Regions from separate parts of the Homo sapiens genome. Here region 1 is linked to region 2. The links are contacts of gene promoters, found by promoter capture Hi-C in human tissues and cell types (Jung and others, 2019). All regions are on one chromosome and are shown on one strand. Each heading gives the region's core, a stretch centred on a gene start or on the middle of the fragment in contact. The rest is flanking DNA. Distances are from core to core; before and after follow the strand shown. Region 1 overlaps ADAMTS12 (ADAM metallopeptidase with thrombospondin type 1 motif 12). Region 2 holds the start of AMACR (alpha-methylacyl-CoA racemase).

Evidence for each region. Contacts are between HindIII fragments. The study calls those that stand out against the background at their distance.
Region 1: a contact is called between a fragment that was not itself captured here and the fragment with the promoter of AMACR in region 2, in 2 of the 25 tissues and cell types used here (IMR-90 fibroblasts and mesendoderm cells).

Annotation. Positions count from the first base shown.
Region 1 is chr5:33,554,332-33,560,671 of GRCh38, forward strand. All of the region lies in intron 20 of ADAMTS12 (ADAM metallopeptidase with thrombospondin type 1 motif 12), which reads right to left. Among named protein-coding and RNA genes, the nearest start is that of TARS1, 120 kb to the left of the region's middle. The HindIII fragment of the contact is 6,851 bases long and covers 1-6,340 here.
Region 2 is chr5:34,005,513-34,012,303 of GRCh38, forward strand. AMACR (alpha-methylacyl-CoA racemase) reads right to left here and starts at 2,538. Exons shown (of 5, transcript NM_014324.6): 1 at 2,261-2,538; 2 at 244-387. The coding sequence starts at 2,507. It overlaps C1QTNF3-AMACR (C1QTNF3-AMACR readthrough (NMD candidate)), which reads right to left. Exons shown (of 9, transcript NR_037951.1): 7 at 244-387. RefSeq lists a silencer at 2,675-2,754. The HindIII fragment of the contact is 16,164 bases long and covers 1-6,791 here.

The DNA.
Region 1 (6,340 bases), core at 1,991-4,490, 450 kb before region 2:
TGGACGCCATCATGGAGAACCTTGTGGTCTGGACATTGGTGGTCTTGGGGTCACTTCTTATATGCTCCTAAAGGCTTCTATTTAATTGCCACTCCTCCAACCACTTCTTCTTGAGAATCTCTTAATCTGAAATGCTCAGGGGTGTCAAGAGAGTGTGATGGTTTAGACATAGAAAAAATTATATCAACAGTAAAATAAATGTAGGGATACTCAGTGTATGATTCATCTTTCTGCTACTCAATTTTTGCCTTCATAGGATAGAAGCTCTCCTATAACATACAATTCTAGGTTTTGACTTTTGCACACTGGACTTTAGTAAATGTTTCTGGGAACATGCTGTGTATGAAAGTATGGTTTGTCTGTATTTAGCAAAACAAAGGCTATTCTCCCATTTCATTCATTTGTAAAAATTCAGGTCCATAAAATGCAGTACTGCCATAGACAATCTGTAAAATTCAATAAACATGGAGACAAGAACTAGAATAAGACAGAAGGACTAGTTAGCAAATACATGAAATCCAAGGCCATAAGGAAAGGCTGTCACTTTCTGTTACTTTCCAGCAAATAACTTAGATGATAAAGTTACCGCTAAAATAAAAAGGCAACGTTGCCTATGTGGGAAGACAGATTATTACAAAAAAAAAGTAAAAATCTTTCTGATTCACTTCAGAAATAAATCAAGATCTGCTAGACTTAGCTATGAAAAGGGCAATGTTCATTCTAACTGAAGTAATAAAGGGGTTGTCAAATCAGCAGTTGCCAAAACTTCAGAAGAAACAGACAAAATATCAGTGAGGAAGTGTGTGGAGCTGTGCAGATGATGCATCGTTTTGCTGTCAAACCCAGCTGAGGATTTTTCAAGCTCATTATTATCTCTTACTACATTTCTTCCATCAGAAGAATCACTTTTTCTCCCATATGATTTTTTTTTAAGATGGGGTCTCACTCTGCTGCCCAGCCTGGAATGCAGTGGTGGAATCTTGGCTCACTGCAACCTTTGCCTCTTGGGCTCAAGTGATCCGTCCACCTCAGCCTCCCGAGTAGCTGGGACTACAGGCATGTGCTGTACCAAGCCGGGCTAAGTTTTTTTGTATTTTCAGTGGAGACGGGGTTTTGCCATATTGCCCAGGCTGGTCTTGAACTGCTGAGGTCAAGTGATTGCCTGCCTTGGCCTCCCAAAGTGCTGGGATTATAGGCATGAGCTACAGTGCCCAGCCTCCCCCATACAAATTTTAACATTCTGAAACCGGCATGTGTCCTACAACTGATATACGTATTAATTGTGTAGTGTTTCATTTCTTTCTGAAAAGCTGTAATTAAAATGACATAATCCCCCAGGTGACGGTTTCTTAGAATTGAGACTATTCAATATTAGTTTTGTGATCAAGTATATATTGGTGATTTAAATACTCTAAGCCCTAGTTTCCTTAGTGGAAATTATAAAGTCCTGTATTATGGTAAAAATAAAATTGTTTATCCAAAGCTTCCATGCAATGTCAGACACGTGGCAGTACTACCACCCACAGTAGGTCAAGTCCTCCAGAGTTCAGGAACACTTTGAGCACCCTGACTGTGTAGTACTGGGGAGTGAACACCTTCTCAGGCCAGTTTCTCCATTGGCAGGGCTTACTTCACTAACCTGTCCACAGGCCTCTTGCCCTAAGTCCAGGAAACAAGAGATTAGTCAATGTCCAATAGCCAGCCCTAACTTTACCTAGAGCTCGACGTTTGTCCAGGGCCTTGTTTAGTCTTTTATCATGAACAGAGTTCATTGCACACATTTTCTCTTTTGATCCTTATAACAACCTCTACAAAGTAAGTAGAGGCAATATCATCCACTTCATTTCAGGGGTGAGAAAACTAAAGCTCCTAAGTAGTTAGATGAATGGCCAGTGTCACATACAGATTAATGACAGAGTAGGTTATCATGCCAGATACATCTGATTCCAAGTCAGACCCCTCTGGGATTCAATACTGCATAATTGCATTTTTCCAAGACTGCCTCTGGGAGAAACCTGAGGATGACAACCTTGATTTTGTTTCAGACAGATTAATGCACGAAGAGGAGGAAAGCCACTGTGATAAACTACTTGCAGACACTGGAAAGGTAGAGATCTGAATGTCTCAGTCCTCTGTCATGTTGTAAGGAACATGGCTGTGCTTTGGTGAAGGATAGGCCGAGGTAGGATGTTTACATCCTGTGTGACTCAGCAAGTTTAGAGTGCAGGTGTGTAACTCCACTTGTTATCACAGTCATGGAGCCATAACGTGGGAAGGCCATCACTTGGCTCTAAGCCACTGTTGTCTGTAAAAGGTATAACTGCCCTGTTTGACACAGTGTGGTCACACTGCACCAAGAGAAAGAGAGAGAGCCAAAGTTGTCCATCTGCAAAGATGGACAGAGGGGAGCCAGGACACAGCTCGGCTCACTCATGCCCAGAGAGAAAGAAAGAGTTAACCTGCTGACCCTGAAAGCAAGGGAAAGCCAGCCATGCAGCTGTGTGTGGGAGCCGGACTAAGCAGCCCAGATGGGGCGGACAGTGTGAAAAAGCTGCTGATGAGAGTTGCTGCTGAATAAAATAATCTTTCACCAGCCTGTGGCCCCCGAGTGTTCTTTCTGCTCATCCACCCACTCCCTTCAGACTGCAACATGACCTTTGGTGTAGTCATGAACCTGACATATGTATATGAGAAAATGTTCACAGCAGTTCTATCAGGCTTCATCAAGAAGAATGGTATGAGAGAAATAAGCCAGTAAAACAATTGCAATCCAGACAGCAATCACAGTGGTAGAAGTTCCTGGTGAGTAACCTGGATGCCTCAGGTATGATACCTGTGGGTTCAGGTGAGGCTGCAACATACCCTGTCATCCTATGAGAATTAAAGTGTTTCTGGATCTGGAGGAGAGATTGCTGGAATAATGTAGAAAATTCCAGGTAAAATTAGAATTTTTCTTTCTGAGAAAGTATCTGTGAAAAGGCAAATGATCAGTTCGGCAGAATCTAAACTCTCTGGATATTTAAAGGCAAAACCAGGGATCCTCTTTCCTGCTCTGGATTTTGAAGGTCTGCCACAAAGAGAGCATAAAAGGCCTATCAGAATTAGCGAAGCTCAGAGGGAAGGCCTTCAAATCTTTCTTAGCACATGATTTGGACTTTAGACATCCATATGAAAAAGGGGTCTCCAACTACTTGAAGCTAAGGCAGGAGTATTGTTTGAGCCCAGGAGGTTGAGGCTGGAGTGAGCTGTGAGTGGGCCACTGCACTCCAGCTTAGGTGACAAAGTGAGACCCCATCTCAAAAAAAAATTAATTAGAAAAAGGGGTCTCAATAATCAAGATTTAAGTTAATATCTCTAGGAAAGACAAGCCATGTATGCCAGGGATCCCCAATCCCCCAGTCTGTTATATCTCAGCCTGTTAGGAACCAGGCTGCACAGCAGGAGGTGAGCATCGGGCGAGCAAGCAAAGCTTTATCTGTATTTACAGCTGCTCCCCATTGCTCACATTACTGCCTGAGCTCGACCTCCTGTCAGATCAGCAGCAGCATTAGATTCTCATAGGGATGCAAAGCCTATTGTGAACTGTGCATGCAAGGGATATAGGTTGCACACTTCTTATGAAAATCTAGTGCCTGATGATCTGTCACTGTCTCCCATCACCCCTAGATAGGACCATCTAGTTGCAGGAAAACAAGCTCAGGGCTCCCACTGATTCTACATTTTGGTGAGTTTTATAATTATTTCATTATATATGACAATGTAATAATAATAGAAATAAAGTGCACAATAAATGTAATGTGCTTGAATCATCCCAAAACCATTCCCCCAGTCCGTGGAAAAAGAATTTTGTAGAGATCACAAAACTGGTCTCTAGTGACAAAAAGGTTAGGGACTGCTGATGTATGCAATACCCATAATAGTGGTCAGAAAAAACAAAAATCAGGGCAACTGACCATCAGTAGTTAAATAGCATCTTTGATATAAGGTTTATCTATTATCTAATAAAAGAGACACTTTCTTTACTGGTAGGAATACAGTAATTTTGAGGATTATATTTTAGATATAGTAGTTACCTCATTCTAGCTGAATTTGATGATGTGTCAGAAACAACTCCTACAAAACCACTCAGGGCACTACAGAGATTAATCAATATATCTGCAACCCTAAAGGCCATGAAAGAGAGAGAGAGAGGGGCATGAGAGACCCTATAGGCCAGGCAAGGAGTCAAGCCAGGCTTTCCTTAGGAGGCCGGACCCCAGAGATGAGCTTGCTAATCTTTCATCCAGAGTTTGCACTGGCTAGACTCCCTCAGGCTGGAGCTGACCTTTTCAAAACACAAGCTATTTCACACATCTTTCCTTTTCATGAGTCATGTAATTTCCAATGAAATGATTATTCCCAGTGACAGGAAAGTGGAACTTTAGGACTTGGTCAACATTTGGCAAGCTCAGGGATATGAGATGTTTCTTGAGATTTCTCTGGATATGGAAGAGAAGTTGTAGCCAAACTTTCAGTCCTTTTCAGATCCTGAGTTTGTTATGAGTTGGAAGAGAAATAAAAAAGACCAGTATCGATTCTTGAAAGAAAAATTATATAGAAAGAGAAAGAAGGTGGTAATTTTCTCAAGGAGTAGCCTCACAACCCCTCTCTTCCAAAGACCAGAGCCTTGCTTTGGGAAAGGGTCCGAAAGACCGACCATCAGACAGTAGCCTCCCATGTTCCTGTCTGATGGTAAGTCTGCCAGGAGAACCAGAGACAGAAATGCCCATTGCAACACCTCTGGGTCCTGTCTGTCTGGGGACATGAGCTCTTCACTAGATGAAGAAACAAATGTCTAGAGGTGACATCAGCTTCCCTAAACCTCTTGGGTAGCTCTTTCTTTTCCTTTCTCCTGTGTCTCAGCTATCAAGAGGAACCAGCTCCCTGGAGAGAAGACAGGGGCCTACCAGGCTTCCTAGGGTTGATCATGTATGGCAAACAGGTATATGCACAGCTCACACCTCTGTACTCTCTACCTGCCAACTGGCCCTCAATCTCACCACTGACCAGTGCCTTATAGCCCTGAATTATCCCCCAAGAACTGGTTAAGCCCTAGTCCAGCGTGACAAGCAGATTAGGCCTAGTTAGTGTCTCAAAGCACCAAGGCTAACTAATCTGAAAACCTGATACGTTCTTTTCACAAGGAACTATGGAGACAGCACAGCAAAATGAGTAATCACAGTAAGATTAGCAAAGATGGTAAAATTGCACTTTAAAAAGATCAGTATGGCTGGGTGTGGTGGCTTACGCCTGCAATCTCAGCACTTTGGAAGGCCAAGGCAGGCGGACCACTTGAGGTCAGGAGTTCGAGACCAGCCTGGCCAACATGGTGAAACCCCATCTCTACTAAAAATACAAAAATCAGCCTGGTATGGTGGTGCATGCCTGTAATCCCAGCTACCCGGAGGTTAAGGCACGAGAATCGCTTGAACCCGGGAGGCAGAGGTTGCAGTGGGCCAACATCACGCCATTGCATTTCAGCCTGGGTGACAAAGTGAGACTCCATCTCAAAAAAATAAAAATAAAAATAAATAAGAAGATCAGTGCAGGGAGTACGCTTTTAAAGAACAAATTATTCTTTATATCTCAGCTTTTGTTTCATTTTGGGTCTGGAAGATTAAGCCATATATTCGCTTTGTAAAGCACAGGTGATTCATGATTTAATTATATCCGTGATAATATAGGATTATTCATTAAAATGCTAAATTGAAGTAATATAGAAATAGCATTGCATGCTGGAGAAGCAATTAATAACCCAAACTTAACTTTTCTGGTTTATCTTGTAAGAGAAAGGACAGGTGGGTTACCACATGTGGGTTAATAAAAACTCTGTACTTCTAAGACTTTTGTGTAACTTGAAGTTGGCCTATGGTAATGCCCATGATTTGCTCATCCCTGATTTTATAAGAGGTAAAAGGGCAGCAGAAAGGTAGAAAAAAAAACACTGTTGGTGGGACTGCAAACTAGTTCAGCCATTGTGGAAGTCAGTGTGGCGATTCCTCAGGGATCTAGAACTAGAAATACCGTTTGACCCAGCCATCCCATTACTGGGCATATACCCAAAGGAATATAAATCATGCTGCTATAAAGACACATGCACACGTATGTTTATTGCGGCACTACTCACAAAGCAAAGACTTGGAACCAACCCAAATGTCCAGCAATGATAGACTGGATTAAGAAAATGTGGCACATATACACCATGGAATACTATGCAGCCATAAAAAATGATAAGTGCATGTCCTTTGTAGGGACATGGATGAAGCTGGAAACCATTATTATCAGCAAACTATCACAAGGA
Region 2 (6,791 bases), core at 1,288-3,787:
TGTAGTAAATAAATGATAGTAGTGGGCATGTATTAACCTTCCAACCTGTTAAGGGATGGGGTGAGGGAAGGTTGAGAATGATTGTTTCAAGACTCAAACCGATCCATTTTGAACACCCATGCTCTCTTGATTGATTCTGATAAATGTTTAAATTTTTACCTTTACAAATTATTGTTAATCAACATACCTGTAGATCTTGATGGAATAAATTAAAAGTGTAGACTAAATTTTTTTTCAACATACCTGACAAAGCCAAATAGTTGATATCGTGGCCAGCTAACCGGCAGAAGCTTCCTGACTGGCCAAATCCACTCAGCCTGGCATAAATAAGCCTTGGATTTTCCCGCTGCAGAATCTCTGGGCCCAGCTGGAGTTTCTCCATGACACCTTAAGAGAAAAGTAACGATCTTCTTAAGAGAGTATGAATTGAGGATGGAGATAATCCCTTCTCTGAGACAAACATAAAATAGCACCATTGCAAGTAATATTAATAACATTTGCTGTAGGCTAATGGCATGTTTACAGCAGTTAAGGACTCAAAGAGTGAAGCCACCATTTCTGGAATGTGTGGCTTCTTCCCAGGATGTAATTTCTCCCAGTACATCTCTGTTTCCCTCTAGGTTTATCCAAGCCTATTTATTCAATCCCCAGAGCAGGGTCTCATCCCTTTAGTAAATCCCTTTTCTCTTTTTCTATACCGCATCAGTGTTTACCACATCCCACCTTAGCTGCACTTGCTTGTACATGCATACACTTATCTTCCCTATCAGCTCATGAGCTCCTCCTGCAGAATTTACACCTGATGTTTCCACAGGCGCTAAAGTGCCTAGCATCAGTACCTTCACGAAAAAGTTTAGCACCCATCTGTAGAAAGAGTGGTTAGTGACAATAGCACCTGAGAGTTTTTAAGCTATCAACAAGTATAGTATTTATAGCACAAACCCCAGGTAACCAGCACCTGAAATTTCCTGGGATTAAAAGTAATCAAAATTACATAATAAACTCACTATCTTTACCTTCCTAAGGCTAAAATAAATCACAGAAAACCTCTAGTCATCTACCTAAACACCAGTCACAACTCCTCACCCGGAGGCTATATCCGTATTCCCAGCCGACCTTCCTCCTAATTACAAGACCTTGGACAAGCCTCCCTCATCTTAAATGGAGCATTCTTAAATTATTACATAATCTTAATTATTAAATCATTATTGTTACAAGCCTCAAATACAGCTGTGAGGGTTAAATGAGTTAACGCATTTAAATAAGCCGGCTGTGCCGTAGGCATTCATTCATTCACCATTTACCGATTTCCCACTATAGACCAGGCAATGCTTTGGATTTCTACTTGAACAAAGTTATTCTGGCAGCTGTCTGAGAATCCACTGGAGTGATACCAGCCCCAAACACCAGTTTTTAAAAGGCTGTCACACCAGTGTCAAGGCAGTTGCAGCAGGTATGGAGAGAAATAGTCCGAGTGGGCTAAGGAGCAAAATGACTGTATTGATGATCATTGAAATTGGATGTGAAAGGAAGACTGGAGTCCATGATGAAGTACAAGTTTGAGATTCAGGCATTCACTGAAATAAATAATACAGAAGGTGGAGATGCTGTTTTAGAAGGAAGAAGGAAAGGCTCATTTTGGGATTTGTGGAAGCTGCCTGGCGGGCAGCCTTGACGGCGATGCCCAGGACCTGTGTATGCCAGCGTCTGCCGCTCTGAAAGGGGGAAGTCTACAAAAAGGTGAAAATGATGGGAATGGGTAACTGGGCTTCAGGGAGCAGATGCTGAGACTTAGAACGCCAGCATTTCAGGCAGGGAGGAGCGTTAGCCTGGGCCCGTGGATGGCTTGAGGGTACAGCACTCCAAAACGGTAGCCGAATGACCGCCTATATGCAGTTTTCCAGGAAGGGAATCCTATGGCTTTCATTAGATTCTCACAGGGTTCAAGACCCTCAATTAATTAAGAAAGGCAAATACGGAACGTTTCTTAGAAAAAAAAGGAGGAATTTGGGAAGGAGTCAGAGAGGCAAAAGGAGAAACCGGGCAACAGCAGTATCTCAGAACCCAAGTTTTGGACAATCCAGTTTGGGAAGAATGATCACTAACAATACCCTAGGAGGCAAAAATCTGGAAGGCTGGGGCCGACAAGGGTTCTTGCGGCAACAGGGCAAAGGTGTGGCGGGTGCAGCCTCGATCGAACGGCCAGGCCCCTCCCCTCCGCGGGAACTTCCCGAGAGCAGCCCGCGGGGCCCGGGCTCACCGCGGCGGAAGGGCTCCAGCAGCACATCCGACCGCTTGCACAGACGCCGCAGCACGGCGGCTCCCCGCGGCTGCTTCAGGTCCAGCACTAGCGAGCGCTTGCCCCGGCCCAAGCGGCTCACGTCGTAGCGGGAGCCGGGCCGGTCCACGCGTACCACACGCGCCCCGAAGTCAGCCAGGACCATAGCACAGAACGGGCCCGGGGCCAGGCCGGACAGCTCCACGACCGAGATGCCCTGCAGTGCCATGGCGCTTCCCAGTGCCCCGCTGAAGGAAACTGAGCAGCCCTTAGCCCCAGCCCAGCAGCCTGCAAGAAGCCCTCCCAATCCCCGGCGCCACGCCCCCAGCCGCGGCGCCGCGCCCCAAAGGCACCACCCCCGTCCCTCTTTTGCGGGCCTGCGCAAGCCCGCGGAGTCTGCGCACTGGGCGCTTCCCCACCCCCGGCCTCCCGGGACCGCCAGTGCCAAATGCAGTAGGTTGCTTTCCTTTTTGTGCAACCTAAATTCCTGAGTCTTAAATTGCAGGGACTGACCTTTGGAGCTCCTGCCTGTTACCGTCCTCTCTGGACGCTTTTATTGTACCAGGGCGATCCCCAGCCCAACTGTACCATTCGAGTCCCTACTCCTGCCTTGCTCTAGGGAAATAAAATAACGTAAACACGTAAGAACAATGCGAAAGCGTTTTCTTCCCTAGGCTGCAGATTGTCTTCTTCACCGCCCCTGCTTAGCTAGCTAGCTAGCTGGGAATTTAATCCAGAAACGGCTTGCGATACCTCCTAGATGCACTCGTTTTGAGTTACAAACTCCGCGGATTACATGTCTTTTTAAAAAAGTTTAGACTACACTAGGAAAATTATTTTAGTATCAGAAGAATATCAGGGGTGTAGTACTCATCAGAGCTAAATGAGAGCGCTTTAAAAATGTTAGTTTGTCTTCCGCCATTTCTACAGAAAGCTGCAATTTCAGGTTTTCAACCTAATAGGTGATATTTAAGAAAAAAAAAAAGCAATCGCAAATAGCCCCACTGCTTTTACAAATCATTTTTTCTCTTCTAGGTATAGCCTGTCAGGTGGCCTAATGTAATTTTTGACATCTCTAGGAATTTTAATAGAACCAGAAATGGGTGCCAGAGATATGCCTGCACTAATCTTAAGTGGGGATTTATGTATTTCTCAAGCAAGTGATTAAAGCAAAACTAGGCACGATTGAAATCAAGATCTTTTAGGCAAGAAAGTCATGATGAGTTTTAGAATTATTTTAGGACTCTGTGGCTTTCTCTTCATAGAAATAGAAAAAAAAATTGTATAAAACCACAAAAGGTCCTGAATAGCCAAAGCAACACTGAACAAAAAGAACAAAGCAGGAAGCAACACACTACCAGAATTCAAATTATACTACCAAGGTGTAGTAACCAAAACAGCATTCTATTGGCATAAAATAGACACAAAGACCAATGGAACAGAATAAAGAACCCCAAAATAAATCCATATATTTACAGCCAGCTGATTATCAATAAAAACACCAAGAACATATATTAAGGACATTCTATTCAATAAGTAGTGCTGGAAAAACTGGAAATCCATATGCAGAAGAATGAAACTAGACCCCTATCCCTCACCATACACAAAAATCAACTCAGAATGGATTAAAAAACTTAAGACATACAACCCAAAACTATAAAACTACTATAAGAAAACAGATAAAACACTTCAGGACATTGACCTAGGCACAGATTTTATGACTAAGACTTCAAAAGCATAGGCAACAAAAACAAAAAATAGGCAAATGGGACTATATTAAACTAAAAATCTTCTGCACAACAGAAGAAACAACAGAATAAACAACTTATTGAATAGAAGAAAATATTTTGCAAATTATTCATCCAACAAGTGACTAATATGCAGACTATACAAGAAACTCAAACAACTCAACAGCAAAAAATGAAATAATCTCATTAAAAAGTGGGCACAGGATCTGAACAGACATTTCTCAAAAGGCATACAAATGGCCAACAGGTATATGAAAAAATGCTCAACATCACTAATCATCAGGGAAATGCAAATCAAAACCACAATGAGATATCATCTTACTTCAGTTAGACTGGCTATTATCAAAAAGACAAAAAATAACAAATGCTGGCAAAGACGCAGAGAAGAGGAACTTATATATACTGTTGGTAGGAATGTAAATTAGTTTAGCCATTATGGAAAACAGTATGGAGGTTTGTGAGAAAACTAAAAATAGAACTTCTATATGATCCAGCAGTCCCACTACTGGATATATGTCCAAAAGTATCGGGGGAACCCGCCCCCAATATTTCAACATAGGTTCTTTCTATTTTCCCTAAGTGTCGGCCAGTCTGAGAAATAAAGGGAAAGAGTACAAAGAGAAGAATTTTACAGCTGGGCCACCAGGGGTGACATCACATATTGGTAGGTCCGTGATGCCCACCTGAGCCGCAAAACCAGCAAGTTTTTATTAAGGATTTCAAAAGGGGAGGAGGTTTAAGAACAGGGAGTAGGTCACAAAGATCACATGCTTCAAAGGGCAAACAAGAAGAACAAAGATCACATGCTTCTGAGGCCAATAAAGATCACAAGGCAAAAGGCAAAATCAAAAACTCCTGATAAGGGTCTATGTTCAGCTGTGCACATATTGTCTTGATAAAAATCTTAAGAGAAATCAGTATGTCAAAGGAACACCTGTACCCACATGTTTATTGCAGCACTATTCACAATAGCCAAAATATGGAATCAACTTGAGTGTCCATTACTGGATGAATGGACAAAGAGAATGTGTACATATACACAATGAAATATTGTTTGGTCATAAAAAAAGGATGAAATCCTGTCATCTGCAGCAACATGGATGGAACTCGAGGTCATTATGTCAAGTGAAATAAACTAGACACAGAAAGAAAAGTATCACACGTTCTCACTCAGATGTGGGAGTTAAAAATTTAATCTCATAAAGAGTAGAATGATGGGGGGGCAGAGATGAAAAGAGATTGGATAATGGGTATGAACATGTAGTTAGAAGGAATAAATAATAGCTAAATAATAGTATTTGATGGCACAGTTGGGTGACTATAGTTAACAACAGTATATGGTATATTTCAAAATAGTGGCCAGATGCAGTGGCTCACACCTGTGATCCCAGCATTTTGGGGGGTTGATGCAGCAGGATCACTTGAGGCCAGAAGTTCGAAACCAGCCTGGGCAACACAGTGAGACCCCATCTCTACAAAAAACTTGAAAAATTGGTGAAACCCCGTCTTTACTGAAAATATGAAAATTAGCTGGGCATGGTGGTGCGCGTCTGTAATCCCAGCTACCAGGGAGGCTGAGACAGGAGAATCACTTGAACCAGGGAGGCGGAGCTTGCAGTGAGCTGAGATCGTGCCACTGCACTCCAGCCTGGGCGACAGAGCAAGACTCTGTCTTGAAAAAAAAAAAATCTTGAAAAGTTATCTGGATGTGGGGTACACCTATAAACCTACTAACTCATGAGGCTGAGGTCTGAGGATCACTTGGGCCCATGAGTTTGAGGCTTCAGTGAGCTATAATCACACCACTGCATTCCAGCTAGGGAGACAGAGTGAGATCCTATTCCAAAAAGAAAACAAAACAAAACAAAAAAACAAAAACAAACAAAAAGCTAGAAGAGAAGATTTGAAATGTTTCCAACACAAAACAATGATAAATGTTCTGGGTGATGAATATCCTAAAAACCCTGATTTGATCATTACACATTGTATGCATGTATCAAAATATCACATGTACTCCATAAATATGTACGAATATTATGTATTAATAATAAATCAATAAAAATTTATATGTTGAATCCCTAGCCGTCAATACCTCAGAATGTGACTGTATTTAGAGATAGAGCCAAAATGAAGTCATATGGGTGGGCCCTCATCCAATATGACTAATATTCAATCCTAGTATCTGTAGAAGAGGAGATTAGGACCAAAAAAACACAGACCTAAGGGAACCATGTGAGGACACAGTGAGATCAAGTGAGGACACTTGCTGTCTTCAAGCCAAGGAGAGAGGCTTCAGAAGAAATCAAACCTGCCAACATCTTGATCTTTTATCCTCCAGAACTGTGATAAATTAAACTTCTATTGTTTAAGCCAACCAGTCTGCGGTATTTCATTGCGGCAGCCTTAGTAAACGAATAACCCCTCTGCCCAAATTACAGATGAAGTCTCTAACGAGGTTCTCAGGTCACCTAATAGACTTCATTTTATATCTCAGAGAATTGCTTTAGCTATGGAACCATGCTTCTTAGATTCCGGGTTTATTTACCATAAATAATCCTTTGGCCAGGGATATCTTGTTAAGTGCATTCAGTCTTTCAATTCTCTTCCTCCTAGACAATATCATGCATCTATTTACACAAAATCCAGTTAATATGGAGATTCACTTGCCTTTTTCTTTCTCTTTCAGGGCATCCCTGTAGTAAGGGGGTAAATGCATCATCATGCAAGCTGCTTTTAAACTCCTTCCATAGCTAAAGTCTTCTTTA